Regions from separate parts of the Homo sapiens genome. Here region 1 is linked to region 2. Evidence: promoter capture Hi-C in 16 types of primary human blood cells and fetal thymus (Javierre and others, 2016). All regions are on one chromosome and are shown on one strand. The core of a region is centred on a gene start or on the middle of the fragment in contact, and the rest is flanking DNA. Distances in the headings are between cores, read along the strand shown.

Region 1 (4,882 bases), core at 1,416-3,915, 1.1 Mb after region 2:
CTGTGTATTTCCAGTTTGATCATCATAGGATTTTTTTTTTTTTTTGAAACAGGGTCTTAGGTGCCTAGGCTAGAGTGCAGTGGCGTGATCATAGCTCACTGCAGCCTCTATCTCCCAGTCTCAAGCAGTTCTCCAACCTCAGCCTCCTGAATAGTGACCACAGGCGTGTACTACCATGCTTGGCTAATCTTTGTGTTTTTTGTAGAGATGGGCTTCACCATGTTGTCCAGGTTGGTCTTGAACTCTTGGGCTCAAGCGATCTGCCCACCATGGCAGGATGTTTCTTAAATGTCGGCTTTCATATCTGTAAAATGGGACTAAGACCCATGAGATTATTGGAGGAACAGAGAGATCTTTCTCCACCATATATCCCTGAAGTCCAATATGATCTCTGTCACATAGTAGGTGCTCAATAAATGCTAGTTGAGATTTATCCCTCATTTCCTCTATGTCTTGTCTGTGGGGTGTAGGAGCGTGTTTTCATGTGCGTGTTTGTGTGTGTGTGTATTCTCTCCAAGAAGTTACTCCCCACAGCCTACCTGATTAGTCATGGTTGGTATAAAGCATTTTTAGAAACAATTTTTTTTTCCCTCCATTCTTACGTTTCTTGGAAAACTCATTTATGGTGTGGTCATTTAGAAGTGGAATTTGGTCCCGTTTCTTGTGGAGAAATTTAGCAGAATAGGTCTGTGGACTAGTGTAGAATGTTATCTTGGAGTAATTCGGGCAATTGAGTCCAGTGTTGAGTACAGTGTCCCTAAAACACCATCTCTTTGTATCTATTTGGGAAGAGTGCCAAAGTAAAGACAATTCTGTGCTGTGCTCCCAAGAGGGCTTAAGTAGATCTGGGATTGGGTCCAGGAATTTATAGGTAATCACAATGTATCACTCTTTCTTTCTTGTAAAGCCAATAGAAATATCTAATTTTAGTTTTAATAAGGTTCTTGATAAATCGAAAATGGTATTATCTCCTAGATGACTTGGTCAACATGTTAAGGTATTTGGGCAATTTTTTAAAAATCTTAAACTGGCCTGTTTTGTTGAAGGTTTAAATAAGTAAGTTAAGCAGCTCCTATTATGAGACTTACGGTAAGTTCATTCTGAGGATATGGAAAGTATCAGGCAGCATTATTATTTGCAAGAAACTGGGGTATAAGAGGTAACAGTAGTTTAAGGAGATGACAAGTACTTCGTGGGATGTGAAGAAAATGTTGGAGGGTTAGCTGCTGAAAGGGTATTGTTAATAGCGCTTTACTGTCTTGATTTGAGCCCTGTGGCCAACTAATATATGTCAATTTCTTGCCTGGAGATTGAATAATACATTAGGAAACATTTAGATTAGATCCATTTTAGGGCTCTTACTGTGAATAATGGAAATCTGCCAGAGTTAGTACATGCCCTGTCAGAAAATGTCATGCCTCTATTTTAGTACTGTTTCTAAATAGGAGGAAAAACTACAGACACATTACCTCTCTGGTTAATATTACTACTTTGGTCACTCCAACTCTCTTCTCACCTTTGAATAGACACAGTCTAAGCAGAATCTTAAGATTTTAGAGCTGCCATGTTGGCGTTAGCCTGTAGCTACTTAGGAGGCTGAGGTGGAAGGATCTTGAGGCCAGGAGTTCAAGTATAGCTTGGGCAATATACCAAGATCCTGTCTCAAAAAAAAAAAGAGAGAGAGGTTTTAAGTTTATGGGAGATTATTTAATAAACTTGAAATTAGCATATCAAAGGACATTGCCCGGGTTTCTTTGGAGACTTGTGAATAATTAGAATAGTAATTTTAGATACATTTGTTGTTTTCTTCACTTTTGATGCTTTCTGTCATTCTAATACTTGTGAACCCTTACCACAACCATGAAATGCATTTCACTGTGATTAAGGATATATGTAAACAAAAAACAAAGCAAATTTAAGCACCGTAATAAGTGGAGTTCTGTGGGAGAACAGAAAGGAATGGTTAATTATTGGAGTTGAGGATAAATAGTTTCAAAGAAAAGATAGCATTTGAAATGAGCCCTAAGGGTGAGTAGAACTTTAATAGCTAAGAATGTAAAATACAGACTTAAGAGAATAATATAAACAAGAACATAGGAGCCTGGAAGAAAATACGTAAGTTATTTGAGGAGTGGTTTATAATCTAGTGTTGCTAGATTCAGAGAAACAATACAAAATGAGGTTGGGAAAGTAGATTGGGGCCAGAGAGTTGCATTGGAATGACAGAGAGAGGAGCAAGTTTCCTGGGCAAAGAGAAATGAATACTAGGGAGTTTAGCAGCAAGGCTACTTATAGTTGACATTATTTCTTTCAGAACATATTTATTCAGCCACTCACATGACCCACATTATTAAATATTGCAAGCTTTGGTAGTGTATCATGAGCATTCCTGTTAGATGGTCTTTCATATTCATTAACCACATTGCACATGCTATTAATGCTTATCTAGAATAGCCTTCCCTTCTTTTTCCCCTGATATATTTCTCTTTGCTTCTTCCGACGGCTAGCTCTGTTACTTACATTTTCTGGACAATATCTAGGTGCTTTTTTCTGAGTTTTTATAGCCATATATATGTCTTTTAATTATATTTCTTAAATGTGATATTTAATGCATGTTTTTCTCCTCAGCTAAAGCTCTACTATGGCAAGAACCTACTGTGGGGTATTTTTTGTCTCCCATTTGTGCCTTAGCACTAAGTATAGAATGATATATATTTAATATATTTTATTATGTATTGGGGTAAGCAAAAGAAAAGATACATCTTGCTTTTCTCTGATTTTTTTCCCTCTACCATTTTATTGCCCACTGTGTTCCTGAAAATAAATAGCAGTTGCATTAAAATGGAAATCTCTATGGAACATAGCTTTTTCACTCTTAGCAATTCTTTTCCCTGTCTGCAAAGTTTTCTTGTTTATTTTTCACTGACCTGTTCTGATCTAAAATCAACTTTTTTTTCCCCCTTCCTTAAGCTTTTTTATTTGGGGGAACCCTTTTAGAGTAATTTTGTAAAGTATTGCTCAACTATTACCCGCCCAGAATATACATACACATATAAATGTATGTATACCTATAACCAACTTGTATTTTGGGGTGGGGTGGGACAGAAAAAACAATGTAAAGATTAAAATAGTCAGTGTTAGCATTATATAATCAAAGGCTGATAGTTTGGGGGAAGTTAACTGTACTAGAGTTTGAAATTTTAAGTCAGCTTTGAAGAAGAGATGAAGTGGACATTGTCTCTCCACTATCTTAATTTAAAATTTTACTTAGCCTGTACCAAGGCTTTTCATTCCCTTGTAACATTTTTAAGGATTTCTGGTTTTTTTATTTATTTTTATTTTTTATTGTGCATCTGAGTGGAGAATAGAGAAAAAATTGGCATGGTGAAACTAAAAATTGGTTAAAATGTATGACAGGCTTGCTAAAGGGATATTATGGCTGTCAGCTAAAATAAAAGTAAGGAGGATGGGTTGGTTCATGAATCTTACTTGCTTAAATTGTTCATATCTTTTCCACTGTCAAAGAAAATTAGATTGGTTATAAAGTTTTTACAGAGAAATTTCTTTTCCCTTAAGCTTATTTAAATATTTTATCAAATGAAGTCTGTGAGGGATATTAGAGATAAAGGAGATTTATAATACATTTATGTAACATTTCACATATCTAACTTATTTGGTACTCATCAATATTATAATTGTATTTATCCTTTTAATATATTGGGTAATATTTATCCTACTAATTTTCTCTTTTTTACTTTTAGCAAAGTGTGGGATGCTGTCTCAGGAGATGAATTGATGACCCTGGCTCATAAACACATTGTCAAGACTGTGGATTTCACGCAGGTATCAGAAAATGGAATTTATTTTAGCGAGTTAAGTTGCTGGTACATAGTGTGATAATGCTTTTATACTTGATTGGTGTGTATATTTGATTGATATGTTTTGTGTGGAATATTTGTTATTTCTTGGTTCATATTTGATTTGATTGTGTATTAAGCTCTATGAATTTGTTTCATAGTTAATCCTGTCAAGCTTTTAAGATACTGTGGAACGAGTACCAGTCCTTCAACATGTAAAAAACATCTGAAAAGCTCAAGTAGCCTTCCCCAACTACTAATAGAAGGGAGAAGATAAATTTGAGATAATCAGAAAAGGGCCTCTCACAAGGGAGAGGAGTAGGATCAGGGGAGAATGGGAGAGTTCATGTATATGTAGTGTAGTGTAACGCTTTTGAAGTGGAAAGCTTACAAGTCTTGGCAGTTATGAGAGGTCAGCTGTTCCACAGTATCTTCTCAGAAGTAATTGGTTATGTCTTGGCATCTCTTTGTGATGTCTGTGAGCTAGATTTTGATTTTATTTGGTGTTGAAATTTGAAAGAGAAATAACTATTAAAATGGTTAATCTATTCACATTTTACTTTGTGTTTTCAGGATAGTAATTATTTGTTAACCGGGGGACAGGATAAACTGTTACGCATATATGACTTGAACAAACCTGAAGCAGGTAAGCATAATTTAAACATCAGCTTCTAGTTTTATTTTCTTTTAATTTAAATAACTGATTAAAGAATTTCATGCTCAGTACTCAAATTTGGAAAATAAAGATAGTCATGGCCGGGCACGGTGGCTCATACCTGTAATCCTAGCACTTTGGGAGACTGAGGCGGGTGGATCACTTGAGGTCAGGAGTTCGAGACCAGCCTGGCCAACATGGCAAAACCCCGTCTCTATTAAAAATAGAAAAATTAGCCAGGCATGGTGGCAGGCGCTTGTAATCCCAGCTACTTGGGAGGCTGAGGCAGGAGAATCGCTTGAACCCGGGAGGTGGAGGTTGCAGTGAGCCGAGATTGCGCCACTGCACTCCAGCCTGGGCAATAAGAGTG
Region 2 (4,772 bases), core at 1,417-3,916:
TTTGCAGGTTTTCCTGCCCTGCAAGAGCCTGTGTGCTTTTCAACCAAGTAACTTCCTGTGGTTATTTAGTTGAAATATTGTCAATGTCTTATGTCATTCAAATCTCAGGTTCTCATCTCACATTTTCCACTTAAAAATTCAAAGTTCTTGTAAAACAATGGATGCCACAATCATGACTTGGAATAATGATTTCTACTGCAAATCCCCTCAGGAGGTTCTGAATCCCTTCCTTTCTCAAGAGAATCCCTGAACAAAAACGAAAGTTTCTGTAAGGTGTCACCGCTCTTCAAAGGTGTCAGGACCCTGTCTTCTCTAAAGGTTTTACTGTGTTAAAAAGCAGCTGTTATTTAGAGGATGAGTCATAAGTCTTTCCCAGGTAGTTAATTAGGATTCTGAGCAATGAATTTTAGTAAGTGGGGCTTCTTTGTCCCTGGTCTTGAAGATAAGCCTTTACAGCAGGAAGACTTTATGGTAAAATTTTGTTATATTTATAAATGCCTATAGTTTACATTTGTTTCAATCCATGCCCATCTTCATAACCCAAAAGGTATTTATTTTTCTTTTACTTTTTGTTAAAGATAAAAGAGTTGGAACACTGTCTTGAATGGCTGGAAAAAGTCCTGAATGGTCGAACTTCACTCATGATTTTAATATTTGACTCAGAGGGAAGAGGAAAAGTCTATCAGATCTTGAAGAGATAAGAATTATTGTAATGGGGCCGGGCGCGGTGGCTCACGCCTGTAATCCCAGCGCTCTGGGAGGCCGAGGAGGGCGGATTACGAGGTCAGGAGATCGAGACCATCCTGACTAACATGGTGAAACCCCATCTCTACTAAAAATACATAAAAATTAGCCGGGCGTGGTGGCGGGCGCCTGTAGTCCCAGCTACTCGGGAGGCTGAGGCAGGAGAATGGCGTGAACCCGGGAGACGGAGCTTGCAGTGAGCCGAGATCGCGCCACTGCACTCCAGCCTGGGCGACAGAGCGAGACTCCGTCTCAAAAAAAAAAAAAAAAAATTATTGTAATGGTAAAATCGGTTGACTTACTTATAGTTAAGCTTTCTAAGAAATCAAGACTAGAACATTTTCAAATTAGAAATCTCTTGCTTATTGGAATAAAAGAAAAAAAATCGTGTCTAAAATAGTAATACTTTTAAAAACTCTTGAAAATTCCCCAAGATACAGGCAAAAATTTAAGCTAGTTTACAGAACTCATTCCAGGAACATCTCGTTAAAAACTGCATCAGAGATTTGTATGCCCATTTATTTGGTATATCTAAGAGTTATTGGATGCTTACTAACGTATTTAATTTTCAAAACACTTTGATACAGGTAGAGGAGTCAAATAACTTATCAAAGGTCACTGCTCAGTGGTAAAGCCAGGATTTAGGCTGAGGCAGACTGGCTCCGGAAAGACCGCCTAAACCATGACAATAGCTCTGAAGACATTTATTGAGTCCCCAGTATGGGTTCATCATTGTTCTAGGCAGTAATGACATATACATAAATATTTGAAAATGTTATTTCAATGAAGTCAAATCTTTATTCGGATAGTGAGAAGGTAAATTTGCTTTACTTTAAATGTAAATGAATCCACATAAAATGTTTATTTTAAAAAGCAAGCGTTCAACATTACATCACGTATCGGTGTTAACTGTGTTACTGAAAATGTTCAGGTAAAAATGAAATGACCTCGATGAATTAGGAGAAAGTAATTTTTAATTAAAACAAAACACTTGAAACACTCTTTTTGTTTCAAAAAGCATGGGTCCACAATTCAGGTATATAAGAATAAGCTGCCATTCTGACTTTAGTCTCTGGACTCATTTACAAAGAGACCCGGGGGACCTCCACGTCTTCGCAGAGGACCCGATCCGCTGATCTGTGGCGCCCTGGCTTGCGGGGAGCAAGCCAAGGCCAAGACTTTGGCCTCTCCAATAAAACCTAGTGGCTCTTTGCAGGCCCATAGCCTCAAAGACAAAAGATATTTTGGCTAGGCGAGCTTGTTCCTCCCGTCAGCACAGGAAGCATTCACGTCTGGTCATCACTCTAGCTTCAGACTCAAAAGTGAACGATTGGCTGGCTGTGAGCCGCAGGACCCTGCGGGGAGACCAGGGTGGTCTCTACACTGTTGGGTAGCTAGCTGGAGGCAAGGCGCTTGTATAAGAAACAGTCCACGGACCCTGTCCTGGGCAGGCAGAATTCCGCGGACAGGCTGTTGTTTCGCCTAAGCAGCACGGGCTGCGGAGACAGAAACCTACCTGAGTAGTACGGTGTATTATATGAGAACATCCACTTAGCATAGCAACGTCTACGGACAACCCCTGTAGCTCTTCTTCTGGATTGTTTTCTGTTTCCAACCATGTTTTCTTATTTCCTACGAGTTTATGTGCTTGGAAGCGAGCGTGGTCGTGGAAAACCCGTAACCGCTAAATTCATCTGGGTCCCCAAAGACTGAGCCGGCTGGCCTCGTTATTTATGTGAGCGGCTATGTAAATGAGGATTCGGAGATTGCTCTATTGATTGGAGAGAGCTGGAGGAGGCGGTCTCTCTTCCAGAGCGCTAGTTGGGAGCGGAGCCTGCCTGTCATTGGTCACCAGAGCCAATGGAAAGGGGCTGCCGCGCGGCCGTAAAGAGTTTGTAGAGGCAGTTCGGGTGCGGTACGTTGCATTCCGGTACCGGACGCCGAGAGCGGTTTGTCTCCGTCTCTGGAGTTGTAGGCGAGAGGTGATCATGTCCGGTCGCGGGAAACAGGGCGGCAAAGTGCGAGCAAAGGCCAAATCCCGCTCCTCCCGCGCGGGCCTGCAGTTCCCGGTGGGCCGAGTGCACAGACTGCTGCGCAAAGGGAACTACGCGGAGCGAGTGGGCGCCGGGGCGCCGGTGTACCTGGCGGCGGTGTTGGAGTACCTTACGGCGGAGATCCTGGAGCTGGCTGGCAACGCCGCGCGTGACAACAAGAAGACCAGGATAATTCCCCGCCACCTGCAGCTCGCCATCCGCAACGACGAGGAGTTAAACAAGCTGCTGGGCAAAGTGACCATCGCTCAGGGCGGCGTCCTGCCCAACATCCAGGCCGTGCTGCTGCCCAAGAAGACGGAGAGTCAGAAGACGAAGAGCAAATGACCCTGACGCCGCCCTCAGGGAGCTGGCTCCCCCAGCAAAGGCCCTTTTCATGGTCGTCCCGCAATGCTTTTGAATGTGCTGGATGTCATGGAGGGCCGGTGACATCTAGCGGGGAGGTGGGCGGCGAGGGTCCCGGCGGGAGCCAATAAAGTTGGTGAAAATCGTTTGGTCGAGAGAGCTGTGTAGTCGCGGGGACATGTCGGATGGCCCCAGGGGAGGGGGGCGACCGGGAAACCCCTGGAGCAGGCACTGGTGGGTGGGCTTGAGCCACTCTGGACGGCTTTAGTCCGCAGGTCACCCTCGAGGCGTCAGGGGAGGGTGGCCTGGAGGTGGGCAGGGTGGAAGCCACCTCGCTGTCAGTAGGGCAAAGGGGAGGCAGAGTCGGTGCGGTGAGGCCTCCTTCGGAATTATTTTTACTTCCCTTTCACAGAGCCTTCGCTCTCCTGCCAGTTTGTGAGCACTCAGGACCAAGTTCTGGGAAGATACCGTCGGATCGAGCTGAGCTCGGGGCAGGAAGTGTCTGCGGCCATATTTTTCAAAAAGTGGAGTAACTTTCCGTCTTGGAAGGGTGGCTCTGATGGCACGATGTCAACTTGAGATTCTTCCTAGCCTAGTAGCTGCTGTGCTTTCATGCTTTGGATATCAGATATCTTTATATAGCACTTTTATGTTCATATTTTTTTTTTAATGAAGGAAACGTTCAATAAGTGAGTCATGAGGTTGGAAATTCGTTCCCCTGACAGTCATATTGCATAACATTGCAGCGCCTTTAGTCGTGGGTTACATATGCTTGAGCTTTTAAAGTGATGTTGTCAAGTTTCTAGCTTCATAATGATCCTGTCTTCATCATATCATATTCACTTTGAGAATCGGTTTGACTTTGCTTTCAAACAAAACAAAAACCTCTTGCTTTTAGGGGTTCTTACCCAACAAATAACCTGTTTGAACTCTCTTATATTCTCCCACTAGCCTGAAGCAATGACCTCATTCCAGTAATGTCTTTGGGAGTTGCATTGCCTAATGGCACAATATTGCTTTAATAAACATGTAAGGAAAGATAGGACCAAATATGTAAGTGCAGGGGGAAACACATTTCAGACCAGGAATCCACATTGAAAAGTTAACACTAGTAATCATCTTCTGCCCTTAATTGACACTCCTATTTATTTCATCCTCAGCAAATTTCATCCTGGCTCACAGACCCCACAAAAAAGATCCCAGTACAGATTTCACATCTTTGGATTCATCTTTCCTGTGAGTCGGAATTGAAGTCTTCCCCAAAAATATATGTATATATTGTATGTCTTCATCCTTGGTAGCGGCTGGCCCATTTTCCCACATGGACTTTATTTTGTCCCCAGTATTTATTGAACAGCTGTCTATGCCAGGCTCTGTACAAAGTGATAGGAGTAGAGCTGTGAATGAGGCCAACCAGATTTCCACTCTCTCGGAGCTCACTTTATTTTTATTGGTTCCTGAAGACGGGACAAGGAACAAATACATACGTTAATATGAGAGATCAGCTTCTGTTAGTACTTGTACCTCTCTGCTGTGTGTGGATGAATGATGGAATTACTTCTCCCATGTTGCCATTTTTGAGGTGTACAAAGGTCAGGCCGTACACACCTCTGTTAGGAGGCAAATTATTGG

What was found. The method cuts DNA at HindIII sites, captures the fragments that hold promoters and counts their contacts. A CHiCAGO score of 5 or more calls a contact.
Region 1: a fragment that was not itself captured here is called in contact with the fragment with the promoter of H2AJ in region 2 in 10 of 17 cell types (total CD4 T cells, total CD8 T cells, naive CD4 T cells and 7 more); the score reaches 11.9 in total CD4 T cells.

What each region holds. Positions count from the first base shown.
Region 1 is chr12:15,886,167-15,891,048 of GRCh38, forward strand. It overlaps STRAP (serine/threonine kinase receptor associated protein), which reads left to right. Exons shown (of 10, transcript NM_007178.4): 3 at 3,762-3,843; 4 at 4,431-4,503. Among named protein-coding and RNA genes, the nearest start is that of STRAP, 6.2 kb to the left of the region's middle. The HindIII fragment of the contact is 606 bases long and covers 2,363-2,968 here.
Region 2 is chr12:14,771,739-14,776,510 of GRCh38, forward strand. H2AJ (H2A.J histone) reads left to right here and starts at 2,667. Exons shown (of 1, transcript NM_177925.5): 1 at 2,667-3,286. The coding sequence starts at 2,733. The coding sequence ends at 3,122. RefSeq lists enhancers at 2,087-3,004, 2,218-2,427, 2,618-2,947, 2,958-3,117, 3,005-3,921 and 1 more. The HindIII fragment of the contact is 5,193 bases long and covers 1,056-4,772 here.